7 separate regions of the Homo sapiens genome follow, and all the other regions are linked to region 6. The links are contacts of gene promoters, found by promoter capture Hi-C in blood cells and fetal thymus (Javierre and others, 2016). All regions are on one chromosome and are shown on one strand. Each heading gives the region's core, a stretch centred on a gene start or on the middle of the fragment in contact. The rest is flanking DNA. Distances are from core to core; before and after follow the strand shown. Region 1 overlaps XPOT (exportin for tRNA). Region 2 has its middle 59 kb from the start of GNS. Region 3 overlaps TBK1 (TANK binding kinase 1). Region 4 has its middle 4.3 kb from the start of GNS. Region 5 overlaps XPOT (exportin for tRNA). Region 6 holds the start of CAND1 (cullin associated and neddylation dissociated 1). Region 7 has its middle 3.2 kb from the start of C12orf56.

What was found. Contacts are between HindIII fragments. The CHiCAGO score rates a contact against its expected background, and 5 or more counts as called.
Region 1: a fragment that was not itself captured here is called in contact with the fragment with the promoter of CAND1 in region 6 in 1 of 17 cell types (neutrophils); the score reaches 7.9 in neutrophils.
Region 2: a fragment that was not itself captured here is called in contact with the fragment with the promoter of CAND1 in region 6 in 1 of 17 cell types (neutrophils); the score reaches 6.3 in neutrophils.
Region 3: a fragment that was not itself captured here is called in contact with the fragment with the promoter of CAND1 in region 6 in 1 of 17 cell types (neutrophils); the score reaches 9.1 in neutrophils.
Region 4: a contact is called between a fragment that was not itself captured here and the fragment with the promoter of CAND1 in region 6, in 1 of 17 cell types (neutrophils). The highest score is 7.6, in neutrophils.
Region 5: a fragment that was not itself captured here is called in contact with the fragment with the promoter of CAND1 in region 6 in 1 of 17 cell types (neutrophils); the score reaches 5.2 in neutrophils.
Region 7: a contact is called between a fragment that was not itself captured here and the fragment with the promoter of CAND1 in region 6, in 1 of 17 cell types (neutrophils). The highest score is 8.5, in neutrophils.

What each region holds. Positions count from the first base shown.
Region 1 is chr12:64,438,895-64,443,018 of GRCh38, reverse strand. XPOT (exportin for tRNA) reads right to left here. Exons shown (of 25, transcript NM_007235.6): 23 at 3,704-3,775. It also overlaps the pseudogene LOC100420899. Among named protein-coding and RNA genes, the nearest start is that of TBK1, 11 kb to the left of the region's middle. The HindIII fragment of the contact is 635 bases long and covers 1,356-1,990 here.
Region 2 is chr12:64,698,637-64,702,753 of GRCh38, reverse strand. No RefSeq gene overlaps it. Among named protein-coding and RNA genes, the nearest start is that of GNS, 59 kb to the left of the region's middle. The HindIII fragment of the contact is 6,460 bases long and covers 1-4,117 here.
Region 3 is chr12:64,462,577-64,466,433 of GRCh38, reverse strand. It overlaps TBK1 (TANK binding kinase 1), which reads right to left. Exons shown (of 21, transcript NM_013254.4): 4 at 1,971-2,100. Among named protein-coding and RNA genes, the nearest start is that of TBK1, 12 kb to the right of the region's middle. The HindIII fragment of the contact is 5,197 bases long and covers 1-3,857 here.
Region 4 is chr12:64,761,684-64,765,646 of GRCh38, reverse strand. It overlaps a transcript of TBC1D30 not described here. Among named protein-coding and RNA genes, the nearest start is that of GNS, 4.3 kb to the right of the region's middle. The HindIII fragment of the contact is 4,032 bases long and covers 598-3,963 here.
Region 5 is chr12:64,407,792-64,411,610 of GRCh38, reverse strand. XPOT (exportin for tRNA) reads right to left here. Exons shown (of 25, transcript NM_007235.6): 2 at 1,516-1,649. The coding sequence starts at 1,575. Among named protein-coding and RNA genes, the nearest start is that of XPOT, 5.3 kb to the right of the region's middle. The HindIII fragment of the contact is 450 bases long and covers 1,747-2,196 here.
Region 6 is chr12:67,267,858-67,271,650 of GRCh38, reverse strand. CAND1 (cullin associated and neddylation dissociated 1) reads right to left here and starts at 2,293. Exons shown (of 15, transcript NM_018448.5): 1 at 1,866-2,293. The coding sequence starts at 1,933. RefSeq lists enhancers at 1,527-2,178, 2,458-2,717, 2,858-3,157. The HindIII fragment of the contact is 8,089 bases long and covers 1,064-3,793 here.
Region 7 is chr12:64,391,976-64,395,897 of GRCh38, reverse strand. No RefSeq gene overlaps it. Among named protein-coding and RNA genes, the nearest start is that of C12orf56, 3.2 kb to the right of the region's middle. The HindIII fragment of the contact is 713 bases long and covers 2,255-2,967 here.

The DNA.
Region 1 (4,124 bases), core at 424-2,923, 2.8 Mb after region 6:
CAAAAATTAGCTAGGTGCAGTGGCGGGTGCCTGTAATCCCAGCTACTCGGGAGGCTGAGGCAGGAGAATCGCTTGAACCCGGGAGGCAGAGGTTGCAATGAGCCGAGATCGCGCCACTGCACTCTAGCCTGGGTGACAGAGCAAGACTAGAGCAAGACTCCATCTCAAACAAACAAAAAACCCTTGGATGCAGATCATGATGTTTAAGAACACAATACCATTACCCTTCCTACAATTCTATTTATATTATGAAGAGCAGGTCCTGGTGGATATAGAAATCAAGATGAATAAGGAGATTATGGAACACATCAAAAAAATCGTGGGGAAGAATGAGGACACAAGAAAGGAGAGCAGGAGAAAAAGCAGCTCTCTCACCCAGCTCATTTTGGCCTTCAAAGTAGTTCTGATGGGAATCTACCTGTGAAGTTAAAGGGCAGGTGCCCTATCCAGGCCTAATGGCATTAGGAGACGACAGGGAAGTACAAAGCAACACTGAAAGCCAGTGCCTAGCAGTAAGGTCCAAGGACACTATGGGCTAGGGTAATTGATATGGGGTTACCTTGGTCACAGAAAAGCCCCTGGTTCTGGACAGGTGTGGTGGCTCACGCCTGTAATCCCAGCACTTTGGGAGGCCGAGGCCAGTGGATAACTTGAGGTCAGGAGTTCAAGACCAGCCTGGCCAATGTGGTGACCCCGTCTCTACTAAAAATACAAAAATTAGGCATGGTGGTGGGCACCTGTAATCCTAACTACTTGGGAGGCTGAGGCCGGAGAACTGCTTGAACCCGGAGAATTGCTTGAACCCGGGAGGTGGAGGTTACAGTGAGCAGAGATTGTGCCATTGCACTCCAGCCTGGGTGACAGAGCAAGACTGTCTCAAAAAGAAAGAAAAAGATGACGACTCTGGAAATGTCTTTGCAATAAAAGGGTCCCCCCCCCACTTTACACATTATGTAAAATGACACAGGGGAAAGAGTATATAAAACTGAGCTGCTAAATGAATATCCCTGTTCCATCAGGTCAACAAAATGCTTCTTAATGGCCAGGCAAGGTGGCTCACGCCCGTAATCCTGGGACTTTAGGAGGCCAAGGTGGGAAGATCACTGAGGTTAGGAGTTTGAGACCAGCCTGGTCTCTACTAAAAAAAAAAGCAAAAACAAAAATTAGCTAGGCATGGTGGTGCCTGCCTGTAATCCCAGCTACTCAGGAAGCTGAGCCACCAGAATCACTTGAACCTGGGAGGCGGAGGTTGCATGCAATGAGCCAAGATCGTGCCTCTGCACTCCAGCCTGGGCACTAAAGCGAGACTCCATCTCAAAAAAAATAAAAATAAATTTAAAAAATTTTAAAAAGCTTCTTAATCATTCCAAAAATAAAAAACAAAGTGACGTACAGATTCAAGGCAATCCGTATAAGAGTTCCAAGAGCATATTTTATAGAAATAGAAAAAACAAAACTAGAATTTACATGGAATCACAAAAGGCCCTGAATAGCCAAAACAATCCAGAGAAAGAGCAAAGCTGGATGTACCACACTTCCAGATTTCAAAATATATTTTAATATTACAGTGTGAAAACAGTATGGTACTAGCAAAAGACAGACATATATCCTAGCTACTTGGGAGGCAGAGGCAGAAGGATTCTTTGAGTCCAGGCGTTTGTAGTTGCTGTGAACTATGATGGTGCCACTGCACTTGAGTCTGGACAACAGAGTGAGACCCTCTCTCTTTTAAGACAGACATATAAACCAATGGAACAAAATAGAATTTGAAAATCAACTCCTGTATACAGTCAACTGATCTTCAACAAGGGTACTAAGAATACACAATGGGGAACAATAATCTCTCCAATAATGGTGCTGGTAAAACTGGATATCTACGTGCAAAAGAAAACGAGACCCTTATCTTACACAAAAATCAACTCAATGTATTAAAGACTTTATATGTAAGTCTCCAAACTGCAAAACTAGAAGAAAACATAGGAGAAAAGCTTCAAGATGCTGGTCTTTGAAATGATTTCATTGATATCACGAAAAGCTACATTAGTGGGGCTACATTGAATTAAGAAGCTTCTGCACCATAAAGTAAGCAATCAACAGAGCAGAAAGGCAACCTCTGGAATAGCTAAAGAATGGGAGAAAATATTTGCAAACCATTTATCTGATAAGGGGTTAATTTCTAACATATAAAAAAACTCCTCTAATTCAATAGCAAAAAACTTAATAACTTGATTAGAAAATGGGGTAAAGACTTGAATAGACTTCTCCAAATACAAATGGTTAACAGGTGTATGAAAAAACAAACATCACTAATCATAAGGGAAATGCAAATCAAAACCACAATGAGATATCACCTCACACCTGTTAGAATGGCTATTACAAAAAAATGAAAGACAGCAAGTGTTGGTGACATTGTGGAAAAACTGGAACCCTGCTACACAACTGATGGAAATGCAAAATGGTGTATAGCCACTATAGAAAATAGTAAGATGTTTCTTCAAAAAATTAAAAATAGGACTACCATATAATCCAGCAATCCCACTTCTGGGTATTTATCTAAAAGAATTGGAATCAGCATCTCAAAGACATATTAGCATTCCCATGTTAACTGTAGCACTTACAATGTGAAAATAGCCCCAATGAATCTATCAGTGGATTAATGCATAAAGAAAATGTGATATATACATACAGTGGCATGTTATTCAGCCTTAAAAAATTGCGAAATCCTGCCATATGTAACAACATGGATGAACCTAAAGGACATTGTGTGAAACAGCCAGTCACAAAAAGAGAGATAACTGCATGATTCCACTTATATTAGGTATCTAAAGTAGTCAAATTCACAGAATCAGAGAGTAGAATGGTAGTTTCTAGGAGATGGGGGCTGTGGGAAATGGGAATTGCTAATCAGTGGGTATAAAGTCTTAGTTATGCAAGATGAATATGTTCTGGAGATCCACCTATATTTTATAGGCACATCACTGTCCCTATAATTAATAATACTGTGTTGTGCACGTAAAAATTGTTAAGATGGTATATATCTCATGTAAGTGTTCTTACAATAAAATAAAAACACTATTGATGAAGAAACAAATTTTGGAATCTACATAAGAGATTGTAATTCTAGTTTTAATCAAGTTTGATACTTCATTAACTCCATGTACTACTGGACAAGAAATCTGGAAAATTATATGCCAAGAAACAATATTATACAAATGACTTCTTAAAAGTATAAGGTAACTTTCCAGACACTTTCCTTAAAATAGTTTCAGATTTACAGATTAAGCATTGATAAGCTTGGTGTACACACAATGAACTACCTGGTACAAAGCTTCAGAACTCTGCTGTGGTCCCCTTCAGCAGTCTGGAAAAGCCTATTAGGCTCCTTTAGAATGTTTTTTTAAAAAAATGCATAAAACATAATACATGGGATTACGATAGAAGCCAATTATACTGAATAATGGTTATCAAACTAAAGTATGCTAGAACAGTAAGGACTTATTAACTTGTTGGGTAACAAGGTGTAGTGATATTACTTAGTAACTCATAATTTCAAAATGGTGATAAGCATAAACAGTATTTTGAGATGCTGGCAACAACTTATGTAATATGAAAATATTTTTGATTTCTGCTAGCGACAATGTCACAGGCAATGCTGCTACTACTGTGATCTCTCGCCTACACAATGGTAAGAAATAGCTCTTACCTGAATTATTTCTGGAGCTACTTGCAAGGAGGGCAGGTATTCTTGTTGAAGATACTGAACACATTCTGGGCCCTGAAGATTAAAAGATACTTACAACTATTTTCTTGCTTGACATTAATAAGCTTAAAAAGAATCGGAACAATACATGTACACTTTAAAGGCAATATAGTATTGTGCTTAAGAACACAGACCCGAGAGCCAGACTGCCTTGGTTTGAAGCCTGGCTCTGGCACCTTCTTTAAAATTATACTTTAAGTTCTGGGTTACATGTGCAGAACATGCAGTTTTGTTACATAGGTATACATGTGCCCTGGTGGTTTGCTGCACTTGGGCAAGTTACTTAACCTCTCTAAGCCTCAGTTTCTCCATCTGAAAAATAAGGTTCTTGGCCGGGTGCAGTGGCTCATGCCTGTAATCCCAG
Region 2 (4,117 bases), core at 934-3,433, 2.6 Mb after region 6:
GGCTTACACCTATAATCCTAGTGTCTTGAGAGGTCAAGACAGAAAGATCATGAGGCCAGGATTTCGAGACCAGCCTGGGCAACATAGCCAGACCTCATCTCTACAAAAAAATTAAAAAATTTGCTGGGCATGGTGGCATGCCCCTCTAGTCCCAGCTACTTGGGAGGCTGAGGTGGGATGATTGCTTGAGCCTAGAAACTAGAGGCTTCAGTGAGCTATGATCATGCTACTGTGTAACAGAGCAAGACCTACCTCGAAAAAACAAAATTCAGCACCTTCCACAGTTCCGAAGGCAGTCTGTGAAGAAATAGTGTGGTAACCTCATTTTGTCTTGAAATATCTTCCGAAAGATCCTAAACGTTGCCTTTTCCTAACTACCACCTTCATAACAAATAACTTTCCATGATAAAGGGGACATTATTTCTGGCCTCCCCAACACCACTACACCCTTAAAGCCCACTTCCTTCCCCAGCACACACAAACTCCTATACAAACTGTATCTAGATAAAGGCGATAGAACTGGAAGTTTTCTGATGGCTGGGCACAGTGGCTCACCTCTGTAATCGCAGCACTTTGGGAGGCCGAGGCGGGTGGATCACCTGAAGTTAGCAGTTCAAGACCAGCCTGGCCAACATGGTGAAACCCTGTCTCTACTAAAAATACAAAAATTAGCTGGGCGTGGTGGTGGGTGCCTGTAATCCCAGCTACTTGGGAGGTTGAGTCAGGAGAATCGCTTGAACTTGGGAGGCGCAGGCTGCAGTGAGCCAAGACCGAGCCACTGCACTCCAGCCTGGGCGCAAGAGTGAGACTCTGTCTCAGAAAAAAAAAAAAAAAGAACTGGAAGTTTTCTGAAAGCTGGTCTTTTTGTTCCTCAGTTTCTATGGTTGGCCTTACCTGCTCAGTCAAGCATCTTTTATTAATAAGGCCTCGAAATACTCAATCTGACCTAAACAAAATTGACTATGAATGTTTTCCTTGCAAAGATCACATATGCAAGAAAAATGTTTGAAATGTTCACCATCTTTAAAAGAATCTGAAGACACCATTTATAGTTCTGAGTAAAAGGTTTGAATTTAAGCTGTTGCCTCCCTGCCTGCAACAGCAGTAATTCAAGAATTCTAAGTTTTGGCAAGGCACTAAAGTTTGCTGCTTCAGAATTTTTAGAATTTAAACAAATTTTATTGCACCTGTAAATGGAAAAACCCTGTAGAGCAGAGCCTCCCTAGAAAGCCACTTCAGAGACAGGAACCACAGAGGGCTTAATGAATCCCACGTGTCCACAAAGCGTGGCTCAACAGCCGGCAGTACATATGCCAGCAAACACAAACCAGATAGATGCCCTTAATGACCCAGGCCCATTGTAATCGGAACTCCTCGTTTAGAAAGAGAAAAAAATGAACTCTCCTGATTGAAATAACTCCCTCCCCAAAACAAAGTCAAATCCCAATTTCTTTTGAGGTTTACAAAGAGCCCTGATGTTTTGTTGTTTGTGCGTAAATAATACTTAAAGGTGCTCACATTTCTCAGAAACAAGAAGAAGAGAGGAGCTTTCAGAGTTCACTTGATGCCAAATGCAGCCTCAGCCAGACACGTGAGAACCACAATCATCCTTTGGAAACACTATTTAAGATCAAAGGGGTCTATCCTGTACCCTGCTATTCTCATCTCCTGGAATAGGGAAAGACTTGTCAAAAAACAAAACAAAATGAAACCAAAACCAACAGGCAAAAAAACCCCAAAAGACAAAAAACAAAAACCCAAACCCAGATCCAAGCCTGAAGATGGAATAAATGATTTAGCTTCAGAGTTGTTGGTATATAACCCAGCTAGTCCCCACTCCCTCCTATTCCAGCCTTCACCACACCTGCCCCCCCACCTTTATCCTTATATAAAACTTCTTTCTTGAACATTCAATTAAGCAAGTAGTGATTCACACCACACAAGCATATGCTTTAGACTTTGAATACTTACCTCCTAGTTTCTCTCTGCAGAGGATGAGCCTTGTTTGGGGGAATGGTTCCATGAGTCAAACCTTTGCACAAGTTTTGTGGCTCCTATAGCACTCTGTAGTACTGAAGCTGTTCTTCTGGTGGTTCCAGGAGAATTGTCTTACCAACTACAGTGAGACCACTAAGTTTGGTTACCTGCCGTGTTATTTCCCCCATGCAACAGAACCTCTAAATGAAAATACAGGTCTGGGCTGGGCATGGTGGTTGTAATCCCAGCCCTTTAGGAGGCCAAAGCAGGAGGATCACTTAAGCCCAGGAGTTTGAGACCAGCGTGGGTAATATAGCCTGACTCCATCTTTACAAAAATGAAAAAAAATTAGCTGGATGTGGTGGCAGGCACCTGTTGTCCCAGCTACTTGAGAGGCTGAGATGGGAGGATCTCTTAAGCCCAGGAGGTTAAGGCTGCAGTGAGCCGTAATCACGCCACTACATTCCAGCCTGGATGACAAGGTGAAACCCCATCCGAAAAAATAAAAAGAAAGCACAGGTCAGCATTTCATTCTATGTGACTTAGTATAATCACCTGAATGAAATGATAAATGAACCAAAATGGATGAGAACACACTGATATCAACAAACCCCAATGGCACCAAAACAGTTACGCTTCTGGGCAAACTGTCCATTACGGCAATTTAACAGACTTTTGCTCCTTTACTCAATAGGCAATTTAACTGAGAAACTAGAGAGCACTTACAGGAAAAGATGGTAGAGAAACGGGGCAGTGTCCGGCTCTGCCACTCACTCACACAGTGGCCTTGAGCAAGCTGCTAAACCTCAACATGTCCATTTCCACATTTGTGAAAAAAGGGATATGACGAAATAGTGTGATAACGTCACAGGAGAGTCAATGAGTTGATACATATTAAGCATTTCAGAAGAATGCCTAGCACATGGTAAGCACTTTGTTGGCATTGGCTACTATAGTGTAGACCTTCACCACCACCCTTTTTTTTTTTTTTTTTTTTTTTGAGATAGAGTCTTGCTCTGTTGCCCAGGCTGGAGTACAGTGGCGCAATCATGGCTCACTGCAGTACTCACGGCTCACTGGAGTACAGTGGCGCAATCACGGGGCTTGAACCCCGCCTCCCGGGTTCAAGCAATTCTCCTGCCTCAGCCTCTTGAGTAGCTGAGACAGCAGTCGTGTGCCACCACGCCTGGCTAATTTTTATATTTTTAGCAGAGAAGAGGTTTTGCCATGTTGGCCAACCTGGTCTTGAACTCCTGGCCTCAAGAGATCAGCCCGCCTTGGCCTCCCAGAGTGCTGGGATTACAGGCATGAGCCACTGTGCCTGGCCCCTTTTCTTTTTTTTTTTTTTTGAGACGGAGTTTCACTTTGTCGCCCAGGCTAAGTGCAATGGGGCGATCTCGGCTCACTGCAACCTCCGCCTCCCTGGCTCAAGCAATTCTCCTGCCTCAGCCTCCTGAGTAGCTGGGATTACAGGTGTGCGCCACCACGCCCAGCTAATTTTTGTATTTTTAGTAGAAACGGGGTTTCACCATGTTTGGTCAGGCTGGTCTCAAACTCCTGACCTCATGATCTGCCCACCTCGGCCTCCCAAAATGCTGGGATTACAGGCATGAGCCACCGCGCCCAGCCCCCTTCTTTCAATAAAACAAAATACCTAATTAGCGTTATCTGACAGTGTCTCCGAATTTGTCACCAACTGATAACTGTTGTTTCAATAAATATTCATGTGAGCCAGGCACGGTGGCTCACACCTGTAATCCCAGCACTCTGGGAGGCCAAGGCCGGCAGATTACCTGAGGTCAGGAGTTTGAGACCACCTTGGCCAACAGGGTGAAACCCCGTCTTTACTAAAAATACAAAAATTAGCCAGGTGTGGTGGCACACGCCTGTAATCCCATCTACTCCAGAGGCTGAGGCAGGACAATTGCTTGAACCTAGGAGGTAGAGGTTGCAGTGAGCCCAGATCGTGCCACTGCACTCCAGCCTGGGAGACAGAGTGAAACTCTATCTCAAAAAAAAAGGTTTTTTTTTAGTAATAAAAATTGACTTAAAAAAAAAAGTCCTACCTGTAATCCCAGCACTTTGGGAGGCTGAGGTGTGTTGGTCACTTGAGGTCAGGAGTTTGAGACCAGCCTAGCCA
Region 3 (3,857 bases), core at 666-3,165, 2.8 Mb after region 6:
AGCAAAGTGTCAAACTTGTTTCTGTAAAAATGTATTCTCATATGCTTGGCACTATTCCAAAAAGCCCATTTTTTCTTCTTTTTTCTTAAGGGCAAAGTTGTCTACTTTGCTGAAATTAAGCTATTTTGTCTAACTGACAGTGTCACTGAGTGATAACTTTATACATTTGCTTGAGGGCTGATAGATGAATGTTCAAATTCAAAATATGTAAAAGGTTTAGGGGTATCAATGTATAATTATTAAAACTCAGGACTACCAATACACTTAGGAAGACATCATATCTATAATTTCTATTTGATTAAACAGGCTGTAGCATACTAGTAATATTGTTTCTCTCTCATTGTATCCTCACCTAAATAATCACTCTGCTTCCAGTGACAAGTTCAAGAATTCCCACCAACCTTTTACCTTATCACTTGACTTTTTCCCATTCCTCAAATATTTGATTCATTTCTCTTAAGATGTTATTTCCTTTGATTGCAGTATTTTTTTTAAAAAATAGGTTCACTGAGATATAATTCAAACATAACATTCATCTTTTTAAAGTGTACAATTCAGTCATTTTTAGTATGGTCACAGAGTTATACAACCATCACCACTGATTTCAGAATACTTTTGTCACACCAAAAAGACAACTCATACCCAACTCCATCTTCTCCTGATCCCCCAGAAACCACTAATCTGTTTTCTGTCTCTATGGATTTGCCTATTCTTGACATTTCATATAAATGGAATCATATAATATTGCAGCCTTTGTGTCTGGCTTCTTTCACTTAGCATAATGTTTTCAAGTTCATCCATGTTGTAGCATATATAACTACTTCATATCTTTTTGTAAACAAACAATATTCCATTGTATAGACACACCACATTTTTGTTTATCTGTTCATCAGTTGATGGACATTTGGGCTGTTTTCATCTTTTTTTTTTTTTGCTATTATGAATAATGCTGCTAAGTACACTGGAGTACAAGTTTTTATATGGATATGTTAATTCTTTGGGGTATATACGTAGCAGTGGAACTGCTGGGTCATTTGGTCAAAAGTTAAATAATTCTATATTTAACTTTTTGAGGAACTCTAGACTGTTTTCTAGAATGGCTGTATCATTTTATAATCCTACCAGCAATGTATCAGGGTTCCAATTCTCCATATTCTTGCCAACACTTGTTTTTTTTTTTTTTTTTTTTTTGAGATAGTCTTGCTTTGTTGCCCAGGCTGAAGTGCAGTGGCACAATCAAGGCTCACAGCAGCCTCAATCTCCTGGGCTCAAGTGATCCTCCCACCACAGCCTCCTGAGTAGCTGTCTACAAGTGCATGCCACCATGCTTGGCTATTTTTTATTTTATTTTTTGTAGAGACAGGGGCTCACTGTGTTGCTCAGGCTGATCTTGAACTCCTGGACTCAAGCAATCTGCCGGCCTCCACTTCCTAAAGTGCTGGGATTACAGGCGTGAGCCACCATGGTTGGCCCTGTTTGTCTTTTTGATATTAGTCATTTTCATTGGTATAAAGTGGTATTTCATTGTGGTTTTGATGAGCATTTCCCTAATAACCAATGATGTCGGTTATTAATTAATTAATGTTGAGCTTTTTTTTATGTACTTGTTAGCCACTTGTGTATCTTCTTTGGAGAAATGTCTATGCGAATCCTTTGCCCATTTTTAAATTGGGTTATTTGGCTTTTTATTGTTGAGTTGTCTGGATAAAAATCCCTTGTCAGGTGTATGATTTACAAACATTTTTTTCTCATTCTATGGGCTGTCTTTTCACTTACCTGATGTCCTCTGAGGCCCAAAAATGTTTAATGCTGATGAAATCCAATTTATGTATTTCTGGTATTTGTGCTTTTGGTGTCATATCTAATGAAGCATTGCATAAAGGTCTTCAGTTTTGAATGGAAGATATTTTTTAAAAATTCTGTTATTAAATTTTATATACAAATGATATCATATAAATAAACAAACATACCCACATCTCGCAAAACAATTAAGAATTCAGATTCTGGTAGTCCATAGGCATTAGAAGGTTCTTCTAAAACAGTGTATAAACTCCCACATGGACAAAATTCCATAATAAGTACTTTATGTCTTGTTGTTGTCTGAAAAAAAAAATCATTGATTGGGAATCAACATAAAAAATAAATTTTGATTATATGCCAGTACTTATCTGATTTCATTTAAATGTAGGATTTGCTACAATGATGAAGGCACTTTGCTTCACCTGAGATTCAGTATCTGTTGAACATACACATATAAGAATTAATATCTTCCGGCCGGGTGTGGTGGCTCACGCCTGTAATCCCAGCACTTTGGGAGGCTGAGGTGGGCGGATCACGAGGTCAAGAGATTGAGACTATCCTGGCCAACATGCTGAAACCCGGTCTCTACTAAAAATACAAAAATTAGCTGAGTGTGGTGGCACATGCCTCTAGTCCCAGCTACTCAGGAGACTGAGGCAGGAGAATCACTTGAACCTGGGAGGCGGAAGTTGCAGTGAGCCGAGATTGCACTACTGCAGTCCAGCCTGGTGACAGAGCGAGACTCCATCTCAAAAAAAAAAAACAAAAAAAAAAAACTAACATTTTCCAAATTCCTATTAGGTGAAGAAGTTGGATTTGTTTTTGAAGACAAACCACAGTAAAAAGTAGCTAAATCTGAACTACAAAATCATTGGTACAATGTTACAATGGTTTTGTTAAAATCATCTTAAATTCCTTTCTTTTTTTTTTTTTTTGAGACAGAGTCTTGCTCTGTCACCCAGACTGGAGTGCAATGGTACGATCTTGGCTCACTGCAACCTCCACCTCCAAGGTTCAAGTGATTCTCCTGCCTCAGCTCCCAAGTAGCTGGGATTACGGGCATGCTCCACCATGCCTGGCTAATTTTTCTATTATTTTGTAGAGACGGGGTCTCACTATGTTGCCCAGGCTAGTCTCGAATTTCTGGGCTCAAGCAATCTGCCTGCCTCAACCTCCCAAAGTGCTGGGATTGCAAGCATGAGCTACCACACCCAGTCACTTGAATTTCTTTCTTTCCTTCTTTTTTTTTTTTTTGAGACAAAGTCTCGCTTTGTCACCCAGGCTGGAGCGCAGTGGCGCGATCTCGGCTCACTGGAAGCTCTGCCTCCCAGGGTTCACGCCACTCTCCATTCTCCTGCCTCAGCCTCCTGAATAGATGGGACTACAGACGAGTGCCACCACACCCGGCTAATTTTTTTGTATTTTTAGTAGAGACGGGGTTTCACCATGTTAGCCAGGATGGTCTCGATCTCCTGACCTCGTGATCCGCCCACCTCGGCCTCCCAAAGTGCTGGGATTACAGGCGTGAGTCACCACACCAGTGCTGAATTTCTTATGTATAACAGTACATTTAGGACAACAGCTCTTCTAACCTCTTAAAATGAAATTTTTCTTATGATGACTACTGTTACTTCAAGGAATGGAGTCCTATCCTTAAAAATAAATGGGTAGCAGAACAGCTGAGTGGTCCCTCTTGCAGCAAAGCTCCAGTCTGCTCATTTGCATCTGAGATGCTGATTTGTTTTAAACCTTAATTTTAATGTACCATTGATTATAATGCTTCATCAATTTAATAACAGCATTACGGGGAAAAAGAAATACCATCAAATTATATATACACAATGATTATAAGATGCATGACAATTTCAGAATCTGAAAATCTGAATGAGTCTTAAAATCTACTATTCATCTCCAACTTTTTATCCTTTGTTTCTTTTCTAATTTTTTTCTACATATCTCCAAAACACTTTTATAAAATATTTTAAATTACTCTCTGGCAGTCATTTCAAAAAAGAGAGAGAAATAATCATAGTAGAAAAAAAAAACTGTTGCTTTTA
Region 4 (3,963 bases), core at 1,364-3,863, 2.5 Mb after region 6:
TAATAGGAGTTTTAACACATTAATCTATTAACTTCTTCATCCCTGTCATTTATTATCTGTTTCTATTGACAATTTTTTCTTCTGGTCATGGGGTCACATTTTCCTGTTTGGGAGCCTATATAGTAATTTTTTTTTTTTTTTTTTTTTTTTTTTTTTGGAGACAGTCTTGCTCTGTCGCCCAGGCTACTGGAGTGTAGTGGCGCAATCTCGGCTCACTTCAACCTCCACCTCCCGGGTTCACGCCATTCTCCTGCCTAATCCTCCTGAGTAGCTGGGACTACAGGCACCCGCCACCATGCCCAGCTAATTTTTTGTATTTTTTAGTAGAGATGGGGTTTCACTGTGTTAGCCAGGATGGTCTTGATCTCCTGACCTCATGATCCGCCTCGGCCTCCCAAAGTGCTGGGATTACAGGCGTGAGCCACGATGCCCGGCCCTGTGTAGTAATTTTCTTATTCAACGCAGGACATTGTGAATTTCATATTGTTGAATATCTAGGTTTCGTAGTCTTCCCTGAAAGAGTGTTGAGCCTTATTCTGGAAAGCAAGTTACTTTCCTTGCAGATTAGTTTGATCTTTTGAGGGCTGTACCCAAGCTTTGTTTCTGTGGGTGCACAGTACTTTTTACTCATGATAGTTTAGCTCCACTATTAGGGCACGACCTTTCCAGGTTCCTAAGGAGTGCTCCTGATGATCAAGGAGGACTTTCCCCTATGGCTGGCTGGATCTCAAACATCCCAACCCCTCTGAGAATTATTTGTTTTACATTACCTTGGTCATTCTTTGCCTTGCCTTCTGGTGGTGTTTCACCCTGTGAATGCACATCTCAGTGTTCAGCAAAGTTTCAGAAAGACATCTGTACAAACTTATGGAGCTTTTAAATCTATACAGCACCCTTCTCTTTGGAATTCTTCCCTGCAAACTTCCAGCTGCCTCAATCTCCCTCAACTTTGATCTCTGTCCACCCAAAGTTAGCAAGTCAACTTTGTCAAGCATGAGATCCTATTTCCTGCTCTCTGGTTCAGAATGTCCCTCCACCAGGCAAAAAGTTGGAGCAATTGTTTGTTTCTCTTTACATGTGGATCACAGTCCTTCACTATTGTCACTTGTATAAAGGCATCTATATTGCCCTGTTTTCTAGTTGTTTTTAGCAAGAGAATTAGTCTGGCACTGTTACTCCATCGTGGCCAGAGATGGAAGTTTTGAGGTTATTAAACGTTAAGTGAAAGTTACACTTCAGAGGTCATGATGAAAAGTACTATTGTTCCTATAATGAAAATTCCACAGGAATTTTTCAACTAATAGCTGAATTGGATGCATTTTTGCTTAAGCTCTTGGAAAAACATGTCAAAATGAAAACACAACTTATTTTACTAAAACAATTTATGGAAAAAATTGAAATAATGAAAAAAATGTTTAAAAAGTGGTAAGTCAAACACATAACCAAACACCAAATACTATTATGTATTCTATTCTGGATATGACAACCACTGATGAGTTGGCAATTATTGGGCACTACTTTCTAACAGGAAAACCTATGAGCAATTTTTAAATATTTTTAGCCAACTGAAAACATCTGAGACATTATTCAACAAAGTAAAACAAGATTGTTATTTTAACCTGTGGTTAAACAGCATTTATAATCAGTCATCTGTTAACACAGCTATTATAATGATTAGGAAAAAGGGCTGCATGCTCTTTAAAAAACAGCTTGGCTAGGCTGGGCATGGTGGCTCACGCCTGTAATCCCAGCACCTTGGGAGGCCAAGGTGGGTGGATCACCTGAGGTCAGGAGTTCAAGACCAGCCTGAGGTCAGGAGTTCGAGACCAGACCAATATGGTGAAACACTGTCTCTACTAAAAATACAAAAATTAGCTGGATGTGGTGGTGTACACCTGTAATCCCAGCTACTTGGGAGGCTGAGGCAGGAGAATCGCTTGAACCTGAGAGGTGGAGGTTGTAGTGAGCCGAGATCATGCCACTGCACTCTAGCCTGGTGACAGAGCAAGACTCTGTCTCAAAAAAAAAAAAAAAAATTAATAGGATACAAAACCAAAGTGATAAAGATGAATGAGAAAGTAAAGAGAAATTATCCTGACATTAAGAAGTAAAGAGTAACCAAAAAAAGTTTAAATCATAAGAAAAACAGTAATTCATTAAGAGGAAGAGAATAATCATTTCACACTCTATACGTATATGAAAACATCATGTTGTACACCTTAAATACACATAATTTTGTTGTCAATTATATCTCAATAAAGCTGGAAAGAGGAAGAGATAAACTGCAAATGAAAGTAATAAATAGGCTATTAAATTGACAACTTGTGAATTATATAAACTCATTGAAAAATATTCAAATTTCTTTCGATTTGATCTCACACTAGCATTGAGGAAGATAACATAAAACTCACGCCTATAATCCCAGCACTTTGGGAGGCTGAGGCGGGTAGATCACCTGAAGTCAGGAGTTCGAGACCAGCCTGGCCAACATGGCGAAACCCCATCTCTACTAAAAATACAAAAATTAGCCGGGCATAGTGACGCATGCCTGTAATCCCAGCTACTCAGGAGGCTGAGGCAGGAGAATTGCTTGAACCTGGGACGTGGAGGTTGCAGTGAGCCAAGAGCGCAGACAGATCAAGACTCCATCTCAAAAAATAAAATAATACAAAATAAAATGCAGAATGTCACGAAATGCCTATGTTAAGAGGATATTTGATAGAGTTTTCTGAAATTTGACAAAAATACTAAACATATATATAAAACCAATAATGAACTGAGGTGAAAAATAATTTTTCTGAATTATCACCAATAAAAGGCAAATACTGATCAAACACACTAGAGAAAAAACTAAATTATCTTTCTATTTTCTTTAGAAAATATTATAAACTAACATCATATGAAGAGATGATTAAAGAGCACATAGCCATATAATGTAAGGGGAAAAAAGTATGAAGAAGTATGCCTGGCAGTTACTTAATAAAAATATGTTACGTTAAATTTTTGCATTATTTGTAATATTTTTCAACTTTTAAAAATTTATAACGTTATATTTTGTTTTAGTCTAAATACATATTCAGTTGTGTACCTACTTTTGTATCTAAAATTGTTATTCTTTTTCTTAAGGAGCCTCCACTCGCCAAATGCACATAAACTTCAGGCCCCACAAAATTTGAATCTGTCCCTGTTATCCACTTTTCTCTCTACCTAATTGGTCTACCCTCACCCATGCTTGTCCTCTTCCAATCTGTTCTTCATGCCACAGTCTAAAGGATCTTCTAAAAGTTCATGTATGATTATATTTATCTTACATTCTTTCAGTAATTTCCAATTAGCCTTACTATAAAAACCCAAGTCCTTAAAATAGGATCTGGGTCCTCACCACCTCTCTCCCTCTGCTCTAACCACACTGGCTTCTTTTAGTTATTGCAATGCACCAGCTCAGAACCTTTGCATATGCTGTACTCTGTGCTTAGGAGACATTCCACCACCCCAATACTCCATTAACAAATTATCTCCTACTCAAACTTCAGATTTCACTCAAAGATCACTTCCTCAGGGCACCTTAGACTAAATCAGCCTCCCACCACCTTAAATGCTCATTGCACCCTTTACTTTTCCTTCATAGCATGTCTATTTGTAATCATATACAAGATACAAGATTAGATTGTCCATCTCTCTGCCATTAGACTGCAAATTCCATGAACGAGGGACAATGTCTCTTCAGCACTAGTGTAGCAGTGTTACCGGAAAGGGGTCCTGATCCAGACATCAAGAAAGGGTTCTTGGATCTCGAGCAAGGAAGAATTCAGGACAAGACCATAGAGTAAAGTGAAAGAAAGTTTATTAAGAAAGTAGAGGAATAAAAGAATGGCTACTCCATAGGCAGAGCAGCCCGAGGGCTACTCGTTGCCCATTTTTATGGTTATTTCTTGATGATATGCTAAACAAGGGATGGATTAT
Region 5 (3,819 bases), core at 722-3,221, 2.9 Mb after region 6:
TACTGAATTATGCCTGGACCTGGATGCTTAAAACACGTATGTGACAGAACCCATTTTTACTGACAAAAAGCAGAGCTTCTGTATTAAAACCACTAATAATGTATTGGTTTTAATTTTCTGAAAAAGAAATCATGGCACATTTAAAAAAATTGGATGCTGGAACTTAAGAGGCAAAGAAAATGCCTCTTTCATCCAAAAATTGGATGCTGGAACTTAAGAAATGAAAGATTTCAAGAGGCACATAAAAATAACAGTAAAGGCCATTTAATAACTAAACATACAGTCAAAGGCTTTTAATTACAAGCATGCAATACCAAGCTAGACTAAAGGTAAAGATCTATGATACTTCAACTATGTTTGAAGGTAGGTAGCATAAAACCCTATGACAAGAAAGATTTGTTTACACACAGAAGACATGGATTTTAAATGTCTTTTGATGTCCTAACTTGTTTGATAGGTATCTTGTAATTAGCCAGATACTTAAATCTCAATTCCTATTATTTTCCTGTATCTGAAGGGCTCGTTACTTATTTAGTAGCAGAGACATGCACATGGTACTGTATTAGAAACTAGTTGGGATTGTTTTTTACTGCTTTAAAAGATTTTTTTCTTAAAATAAGAATAAAAACTGCTATAATTTTTAGTGAGATTGTTAACCTCATTTAGCTCATTTATAAAAAGTATTCTTTGCTATGAAAAGTAAAAAGAAAATGCCTCTTTCCTTTCCACTTACCCTATAGTTCCAAATGCCCACGTCTTTAAAAAAAATTAATTATAGGCTCATTCTTTATATTTTTCTATCATTCAGCTATAGTCATGATTATAGTTGTAGGCTACATTATATTTAATTGTTTACATTTATCCAACTATCCCAGCACTTTATAATGGATTCTTGTCATGTAACCATTTTACTTAAGACATAACCTATCATAACTGCTTATTTATGTCTGCCTAGACCAAATAACAAGAAAGTTAAATATCACTAATGTGGCCGGGCAGGGTGACTCATGCCTATAATCCTAGCATTTTAGGAGACTGAGGTGGGCAGATCGCTTGAGCTCAGGAGTTCGAGACCAGCCTGGGCAAGATGGTGAAACCCTATCTCTAGAAAAAAATTAAAATAAAAAAAAAATCATTAAGGTAAGTGTTAAAACAGCTTGTATAGATCAAGCCAAGGAAAGAGAAAATAAAATACACATGTCTGCTGCTATGGAAAGTCTCTTAAACGAATCCTTTGCATTACAATTTTTAAATAATTAGAAATAATGACTGATGTTGCATAAAGATCTGCCTTGAATCATATGAGATTTTAATACTTTTGTTTGGCCAAGTAAACAGAAAATAAATCACAACACTCACTGTTTCTATATTCAAAATATATTCAAATACCTCAAATTTTTTTGTTTCTGTTCATTTCTACCCAAAGTAAACTTTTGCCAGGTGCATTTTTATTCAAGTCCTCTAATGCCAATCTGTGGTGACATGATTAAAAAATGATTCAGCAGAGTAACTTACCCTTTGTCTAAAGTCTGAATCAGCATTTGGATTTAGCCCTAATAGAGCCTGTTCATCCATCCTCGCTGTTATACTTGTAGTTTTCTGGTTGTAATAGGCGTGCCCTCTGATCCCACAGAAGAATTTATAAACATCTGCCACAAAAAACAAAGTTGAAAGAAAACATTACTTGATAAACAAATAGATGCTTATCCTGAATAACGTAAATGGATAAAATCATGCAAAGAAGCTTAAATGTTTAAAAACTTATTTTGGAACTTATCTAAATTACAACTAAAAGTTAGAGCCTAATTCTCAGAAAAATGGGCTCTGCTAACTACTCCACTAATGTGTAATTCCTAAAAATCTGATTTTTTTTTTTGAGACGGAGTCTCACTCTGTTGCCCAGGCTGGAGTGCAGTGGCACCGTATCAGCTCACTGCAAGCTCCGTGTCCCAGGTTCACGCCATTCTCCTGCCTCACCCTCCCGAGTAGCTGGGACTACAGGCGCCCGCCACCGCGCTGGGCTAATTTTTTGTATTTTTAGTAGAGTCAGGGTTTCACCGTGTTAGCCAGGATGGTCTTGATCTCCTGACCTCGTGATCCGCCCGCCTTGGCCTCCCAAAGTGCTGGGATTACAGGCATGAGCCACCCCACCTGGCCCCTAAAAATCTTAAAGTATGCCATAAAGGTCCTCAAGCTTTCTTAGTCTTCAAGATCTTCTTAATAAGGTATAGAAAGTAATCATTTTCTACTTTAAATAGTAGAAGTACCTAATTTATGCAGTGTTTTACTTATCTCTAGTACTTAAAAATGCAATTGTGCAACTGCAGTTAAGTATAAAAATGACAAATGCAGACTATTACAGTAATTATAATAATTTGTCTACTTCCAGATACAAATATCACAAACCTTCTTTAAAACATTAGAATGGCTGACCTCAGAGTTCAATATCCTTTGGAGTGTTTACTAAGTACTATGACAGAAGTCTAATGAAAGGAACAGGATAATGAAAAACCAGTCATTTAGCTTTTGAGCAATGGACTTAGTTTTGCATTTTACAGATCTCTGCTCTTGCCAGCCAATTCTAAAAATTTCAAAAAAAAAAAAGTTTTTCAATAGTAGATACAAAAACCCACAAACCAGCCAGCTACAGTGGCTCACACCGGTAATCTGAGAACTTTGGGAGGCTGAGGTGCGCAGATCACTTAAGGTCAGGAGTTCAAGCCAGCCTGACCAATACGGTGAAACCCTGTTTCTACTAAAAAGACAAAAATCAGCCAGGCTTGGTGGCACATGCCAGTAATCCCAGCTACTCGGGTGACTGAGGCACAAGAATCGCTTGAACCCAGGAGGCAGAGGTTGTAGTGAGCCAAGATTGCGCCACTGCACTCCAGCCTGGAGAACAGAGTGAGATTCCATCTCAAAAAAAACAAAACACACAAAAAAAAATCCACAAATGACTTAACACTGACTACTCTTATTTAAGGATTTTTTTTAATCTCTGAGAGGTAATCCACTTCTTCACAATATAGGTTCCAACATTCTCAAATAATAAGCTGCAAAAGGCATCCTAGTTTTTGATAGAATGCATATTCATTTGAGCAAACATGGAACAAACTCTAAATGATGTGAAAAATGATATTATTCTCTCAAGACCTATAAGGTAGGGAGACCAAGTCTTACTACTTCCATTAAACGCTGTGGGGGGCCAGGCGTGCTGGCTCATGCCTGTAATCCCAGCACTTTGGGAGGCCGAGGCAGGTGGATCACTTGAGGTCAGGAGTTCAAGACCAGCCTGGCCAACATGGTAAAATCCCCTACTAAAAATACAAAAAAATTAGTGGAGCATGGTGGCACACACCTGTAATCCCAGCTACTTGGGAGGCTGAGGCAGGAGAATCGCTTGAACCCAGGAGGTGGAGGTTGCAGTGAGCTGGGATCACGCCACTGCACTCCAGCCTGGGTGACAGAACGAGACTCTGTCTCAAAAAAAACAAAAAAAGGCTGTGGGGCTTTTTGTTTCAATTACCGTTAACCAAAGACGCCAAAAAACTAATTGGATTGGGGGTAGGGGAGAAAAGCCTTTTGGGAATAGCAGGGGTAGGGGAGAAAGGCCTTTTGGGAATAGCAAAACCAGGCTCAGGTCCAGGTTACAGGATACCTACAATAGGCTTTTCTGTTTTCCTCTGAGCCTGCCTGAATCAAATAACTCAGGATATGGACTGAGAGCTTTGAAGACAGCTCAGCCCTTTCTCTTATGGTTCATAACGTACTTGCAGACTTCAAGGCAGTGTAACTCCCTACTGCCCTCAGATTACGATC
Region 6 (3,793 bases), core at 1,044-3,543:
ACTGTCATTTAGTATCAGAGCACTATTTCTTTCATGTAATTTATTTAAGAAAAAAACAACTAGGTATGTACATGTTATCTTTCTTTCACAGGAAATTTAAGAAAGCAAGCTTCAGTCAATAATCACATGTATGGTATCACCACATAATTTCTTTAGCCTTTCTAAACTTATACAGGAGAATGACTAGTTGAACAAAATTGTATTATTATAAAGTGCTACCTTCAGACTGAAATTGACCACAATCAGAATGAAATTTACCACCTTTACAGGATGAGCCAAACTGACAGCAATGGGGAGGAAATCACGCCACACACCTCATCCATTACTTGAATTGGAAGCAAGCAAAGCCCCAAAAATCAAACGGCATTCCAATCCGTAAAACAACACAAAACCTTTATTTCCCCCAAGAATCTTAATTTTGGCCCTAGAACTACACAAATCTAAAACACACAAAACAAACATGTCACCTCCAAAAAGTTACAATACTAAAATTTTTACCATTAGCGAAATGATTTTTAAGTTTTAAATACATTTAAGAGCTGCCTAGGTAGAAATATTTTTTAAAGTAATACGTGGTTTTGTGGTCATTGATTATTTTAATAAGCCAGTATATCAATTTAATCAGGAACACAATTACTACTTTTTCATGGTTCTCCTTTCACAAATCCGAAAAGTTCTTCCCAGTCCACACGGTTTGGACACATTTTCAAGTGTTAAAACATATTGTTCATACAAAACAAACAAGCTCTTTAGTCACAATTTTAGTTGAAGACTATTTGTTATTTCCTTTAAAATGCACCCAAATTACAACCACTAAGCATTAGAGAACAAAACAGGTATAAGGAAATAAGCGATTTTTTTTTCTTTTTTTTTTTTTTTTTAGATTGAGAACTTATTTGTGAAGAGATGGGAGGCGGGAAAGAATGCAACAATCACCGAAGCGTGCAAGGAAAAATAAAAACAAAGATAACCTGTAAAAATATAACAAATCTTCACTATGCATATTACAACACTTTGGAACCAACAGTACCGATCTCCTGAACAGAACTGCTGTAATAAAGCTTCATATTCACCAGGTCCGTATTAAACATCTCTTCCTTTTGAAGATCCGTCTGCTATGATTAAGATCCAGCAATCCACCCCTTTGGCAGTGATTTTGGATATGAGGACATGAGACTGAAACCCCGAGTTCCTAAGTTGGTTTTACCTGACAAGAGGAACTGACAGTGATGCTGGCGGGAAAACCCTATGAGCGAAGTTTCCTCCATCCTGGCTCCCCTCCCCCTTCTTCCCACCTTCACGAAAATTAATAATCCACAAAAGAACTATGTATCAGCCAAGAGCGCAAAAGTTCATCATTCCACCTGAATGCAGCAAGGCCCACGCGCACCTGCGGGCAGAGAGGAGGCTGCCGGGTCCCCGAGTGGGCAGCAGCTTGGGCCCCAGCGAGCAAGGCGGCCTAGCGCCGCAGGATGGCAAGCGAATAGGCCCGGCGCCCGGTCTCCCGGCCTAGAGCAACTCCCTTCTCCACAATGGTGGGTGGTTTAGCCCCTTCGCGCTACCTGAGACGCAAGAATCGCCTCCTGGTGGGGCAGGGAAGGATGTGGGGGCGCTGAGACAAGCAAACGGGGCCTAGAGACCGCGGCGGGCAACTGCCTAGGAGAAAGAATGGGGGGAGGGGGTTGCAAGAGGGGAGAGGAAAGGGGCTCCGCAGGGATCGGGAGGCCAGCGGACCGGTGGGCTGGAGACTTCGGGGCAGAGAAGCTACCGGCTACGGCCGAAGGGGTGGGGCAAGGCCTGCGTGACGGCCAGGGCCGCGGCTGCGAGAACCCCGAGGTGGGGTGAGGGTCGGATCTCGGCCTCACCTAAAGTCCTTGTCGCTGGATGTCATTTTTTCCAGCAAATTGGAAATGTGGTACGAGGCGCTCGCCATGTTGACGGCCTCGATCCCGCCTGCTGGCGCTGCTGGAGCTGCTGCCCGCTGCCGCTGCCGCCGCCGCCGCCGCCACTGGAGCTCCTCCTCTCGCTCGCGGCGGCTCCCGCTTCCAGGGTCGCAGCGCGACGCCGACGCTGACTAGGGAGGCGCCTCGACGGGCTGCCCCCTCCCTGGCGAGGCGTGGGCCTGTCCCGGGGTAAGCCGAGGCTACAGAGCCAGCCTAACGACGGCGCTGTTCGCGTGAGAACGAGCTCATGGGCGGCGGGGCGTACAGAAGGGCCTCTACGGGGAGCCAGACACTTCCACTCAGGGCCGTCTCGCTCCCACTCGCTCCGCACTCGCTCCCTAGGGCAAAAGGCCAAAGCCCGCCTCCTTCGCTCCGGGGGCGGGGGCGGCAGACGCGGGCGCTACGGAAAGCTAAGGTCAGAGTTCACGGAGGCCTCCCCACGCACGCTGTGGAGAAGAGAGTTAAAAAACAATTCGGTTGGCTGAAGCCTGTGTCAGTTTTCATGTGACCCGCCTTTTGGAGGCATGACAACACAAAAAAAAGGGGCTGTTCTCGCGAGACTCTAAAGCGACGGTTAAGGGACAGGGGACGAGTGGAGCAAGTGGGCCTTAATCTGAAAATAACTTGATTGTTTAATGACATTAAGAGAAAAAGATTACGAGCTTTGAGAAGGAGGAAGCCTGGGAGTAACGACAGTTAAGGAGTTAGCTTGCGGAACCAACATAAGAATTTATAACAGGGAGGTGTCGTTTGGGATCAGACGCGTGGCCTGCATTGCCGTAGCCACCGTGGTGTAATGTTGCCACGTAAAAACCACAAATCCCAGAATTCAGTCGGGTGATACACTGGCTCAGAATGTGATTGGCTGCGGGAACTAGTAGCTTCCTCATTGGCTCCCGTGGAAGGAGTGAATGCTGGGATTTGCAGTCTGATGGGGGAGCCGTGCTGGGTAAAAACCTTAGAATCGTCGCGCACTCCGTTTCTGCCGCGGATTCTTATATTCTCCAATACAGGCTTTTTCTGTTATGCAGTATTTGCAGAGCAGGCTGCTGCAGTTTGGCCAGGCGCATTGCGGATCAGTTGGTGTTCTTGCCAGAGGCCTAGCAGCAGCTTCCTAGCGCTACTACTTGCACCTCCCAAGGCAGCTGAGCCTCCCCACTTCTCTGGCCAGACACACTCCTACCGTGCATCGTAGAACCACCTCTCTGACGCCAGCAGGACCTTAGTAAGAGTAATGGGTATGCGACAGATGGCTGTAGTCAGGCCCTACTGATTTCAAAATAGCTAAAAGACTATCTCTGTAGTTAGCTTTTGTGGCCTTGATGGACCTGCAGCTGTGTATTGCTCCCTCAGACGTACAAATTCGTGGAGATGAGTTATGAAAGTATTTAGTATCCAAGTTTTTCATCTGCTTAATATTTGGGATTTTAAACACAAGTTTTGCCAGCTAGGGGTCAACATCCCTGAAAGTGTTAGGGATGGAGCTAGCTGACAGGCCTTTCTAAAAGAACAGAGAGCCTGGTGAAGAGATGAAAAATCAATCTCACTTGATACTCCTGTTAAAAACAACAACAAACCTTTAAATAGCTCTCTACTAACACATAACTCAAATCCGATCAAATCTACCTGACCTTTACCATTGTTTTCTGTATTCATCAACTATTACTGAGTACTTCAAAGTCAGGCAATAGGAGTTAATAAAACAGATGAAACTTGGTTTAGCCTCATAATATGTGTTTAAATTTCACACATACCTCTGATCTGCTCTCATGTATCCTTCTACTTGAATGTATGTAATATAAAGGCCGGGTGCGGTGGCTCATGCCTGTAACCCCACCACTTTGGGAGGC
Region 7 (3,922 bases), core at 1,362-3,861, 2.9 Mb after region 6:
AAGTACATGTGCAGCAGGAAGCCTGAGAGGCAAAATAGAGCATTGGAGTATTATTCAGTGAAAGAAAACATTAATCCAAATCATTTGTCTGGTTTTTATAACAATGACATCTTTCCTTTGTATGTCATCTAATTACTAATAGTAGATTACTAATAGTAGATATTTAAATGATCAGTATCCATTAATAATAAGTATAGGGCTGGGCGCGGTGGCTCACGCCTGTAATCCTAGCACTTTGGGGGCCAAGGCAGGTGGATCACCTGAGGTGGGGAGTTCAAGACCAGCCTGACCAACATGGAGAAACCTTGTCTCTACTAAAAATACAAAAATTAGCTAGGTGTGGTGGTGCATGCTTGTAATCCCAGCTACTTGTGCGGCTGAGGTAGGAGAATTGCTTGAACCTGGGAGGCAGAGGTTGCGGTGAGCCAGAGGTTGCAGTGAGCCAAGATCGCACCATTGCACTCCAGCCTGGGCAACAAGAGCGAAACTCTGTCTCAAACAAAACAAAACAAAACAAAAACAACAACAACAAAAAACAAGCAACAACAACAACAACAAAAAAAACAACTAAGTTGAAGCACTAAGAGATTCCTAAATGAGACACCTTTAAAAAGTCAGGTTTAGGGCTGGGTGTGGCGGCTCATGCCTGTAATCCCAGCACTTTGGGAGGCTAAGGCAGGCGGATCACCTGAGGTCAGGAGTTCGAGACCAGCCTCAACATGGAGAAACCCCGTCTCTACTAAAAATACAAAATTAGCCGGGCATGGTGGTGCATGCCTGTAATCCCAGCTACTTGGGAGGCTGAGGCAGGAGAATTGCTTGAACCCGGGAGGTGGAGGTTGCAGTGAGCCGAGATTGCGCCACTGCACTCCAGCCTGGGTGATAGAGTGAAACTCCTTCTCAAGAAAAAAAAAAAAAGGTCAGGTTCTATTTATAGGCCACATATTCTAAATATCTTACTGTGTGTACTGTCTGTCTTTAGTTTCAAGTGGGGGGAATGGGAATACTTGGGATCCCTAGAAGCATTGAAGAGTACTTCTAGTTTGGAATCCTTACATGGTTCTCATGGCCTAACCTGCTGGTCTCTTCTCCACTAAAAATGTGACCCAAAAAAGGTAAAATTTGCCTTGGGTCAATCTCAGAAAGTTAGACTTGTATCCAATCAGAAGAATTTAATATTACCTTGTAGATAGGGAGCAGAACGACCACATATGTAACAGGAAATCACATACTTGTTGAACTTATTCTTTCTTTCTTTCTTTATTTTTTAAGACAGAGTCTCACTCTGTTGCCCAGGCTGGAGTGCAGTGGTGCCATCTTGGCTCACTGCAACCTCTGCCTCCCGGGTTCAAGTGATTCTTGTGCCTCAGCCTCCCAGGTAGCTGGGACTACAGGTGCCCGCCACCACGCTGGCTAATTTTTGTATTTTTTGGTAGAGATGGGGTTTCACCATGCTGTCCAGGCTGGTCTCGGACTCCTGACCTCATGTGATCCACCCACCTGGGCCTCCCAGAGTGCCGGGATTACAGGTGTGAGCCACCATGCCCAGTCAACTTGTTCTTTAGACGCTTATATAGTATTTACTCCAGTCCAGGTTCCTGTTCTAGGTACTATTGAAACTTTTTAAATCCTCGTAATAACCCTTTGGGGGTTGGTACTATTATCTCCATTTCATAGATGGGGAAACTGAGGCATAGGTCATTCAGCTACTGAATAGGAGAGCTGGAATTTGAACCCAGGTCATCTGGCTCTACAGTTCTATGCTCATAACTACTGTGCTTCGAATTATTTAAATTGACCATCCCTGTACCTAAGACCACTGTTCTGATGAAATTCAAGGAGACTGCATTTGAGGATTAGTCCAGGTAAGTAATGTCCCATTCCTTTTGATAATTTTGTCAAGAAACATCTATTAAGTGCTTGATTGCAGGAGTTCCTTTGCCAAATGTTTCTTGAGTTTGGATGAACTTACAAGATAAGGAGGGGGTACCTATCTTTGGTGCATTTGGGTTAACCATGTAAAACAGGGGTATCCAGGCTTTTGACTTCCCTGGGCCACATTGGAAGAAGAAGAATTGTCTTGGGCCACATATAAAATATACTAACACTAATGATAGCTGATGAGCTAAAAAAAAAAAAAAAAATCGCAAAAAAATCTCATAATGTTTTAAGACATTTATGAATTTGTGTTGGGCCACATTTAAAGCCTTCCTGGGCTGCAGGTGGCCTATGGGCCATGGATTGATGTAAAGCTTACCAAAAGATAAGGGAATGTGAATGCTTCATATGTCTGTAGTGCTCATAGAGTCTATAATTCATCACATTTGATCCTCACATTTTATAGATGATGAAACTGAGGCTCGGAAAGGTTGTGACTTTCCAAAAGTCTGATAGATAACAGAGTTAGTGCCCTTATCTAGTTCTCCTGACTCCAAATCTAGTGATCTTTCCTATATATTTAAATCCATTTCCTGCAATAGAAATTTTGCTGTTACCTTGGCAACACTGCTGTACAGTGCCTGGAAACCATTGTATTGCCTTCTCTGTGTGCCACGAAGTTAAAAGTTTAACTGAAGTCACCTTGATCACCAATCTCCCAGTCAAATTCCCTTCTTTCTGTGCTTCATTTTATTTATTTATTTATTTTTTAATTTTAGATACAGAGTCTTGCTCTGTTGCCCAGGCCAGAGTGGAGTAGGGCAATCTCAGCTCACTGCAACCTCCACCTCCCGGGTTCAAGCAATTCTCCTGCCTCAGCCTCCCGAGTAGCCAGGATTACAGGCATGTGTTACCACACCCAACTAATTTTTTGTAATTTTAGTAGAGATGGGGTTTCACCATGTTGGCCAGGTTGGTCTCAAACTCCTGACCTCAACTGATCTACCCGCCTCGGCCTCCCAAAGTGCTGGGATTACAGGCATGAGCCACCACACCCAGCCTGTGCTTCATTTTAATGTTTGCTAAGCTTAGTGCACTTGTCACCAAAAGCTTATTCAAGATGGGCTTCTTGGCAGATATATCAAGTATGCTGTCTTTTTTGGTCCTGGTCCAGTCATTCTGTTTCTCTTAGTCCTGGGAAGTAGGTATGAAGTAGGAAGCCTGAGAGACACAAAATAGTAGACTAAGATAAGGCCTTTCCCTTATGTGGGCCTCACTTTCCACCTCTGATATTGTAGTCATTCATCTTTCAACTGCTTTTGTGAGGTGTGGCTATTCAGCAGAGGTGAAGCGCCTTTGCCTTTCTGTTAGTTTGAAGCAACAAACTCTATTTAGAGTGGTTTAGATAATGAGTAGTCTTTATTTTGGAGGAAATAGCCATGCGGCATCTTTTATCAATAAAGGTTGCTACGGATGGTGTAGTTCATTCATTTTTCATCCATTTATGAAGTTAGGAAGGCTCAGATGTGTGATGAGATCCTAAGAAAACTTTAACTACTAGGTCATTTAAGATTTTGCCAGCAGGTGGCACTTCTCTTTACTCACTTGAGTTCCTTAACATGATCTTAGACTTAAGTCTAGCCAGACCCTTACATGGCGGTGGTTCATGCCTGTATTCCCAGCACTTTGGGAGGTCAAGGCAGGCAGATCAGTTGAAGTCAGGAGACAAGCCATGGCCAAGATGGTGAAATCCTGTCTCTACTAAAAATACACACAGAAAAAAAATTAGCCAGGCATGGTGGTGTACACCTGTAGTCCAAGCTACTTGGGAGGCTGTGGCAGGAGAATGGCTTGAACCCAGGAGGCAGAGGCTGCAGTGAGCCGATATCATGCCACTGCACTCCAGCCTGGGTGACAGAGGGAGACTCTGTCTCAAAAAAAAAAAAAAAAAAAAAGTTTAGCCAGACCAAAACATTTCTCTTTCCCTTTGTACTAGTGTAGTCTACAATATCTGTTTATGGATTGTAATATATTTATACCTTCT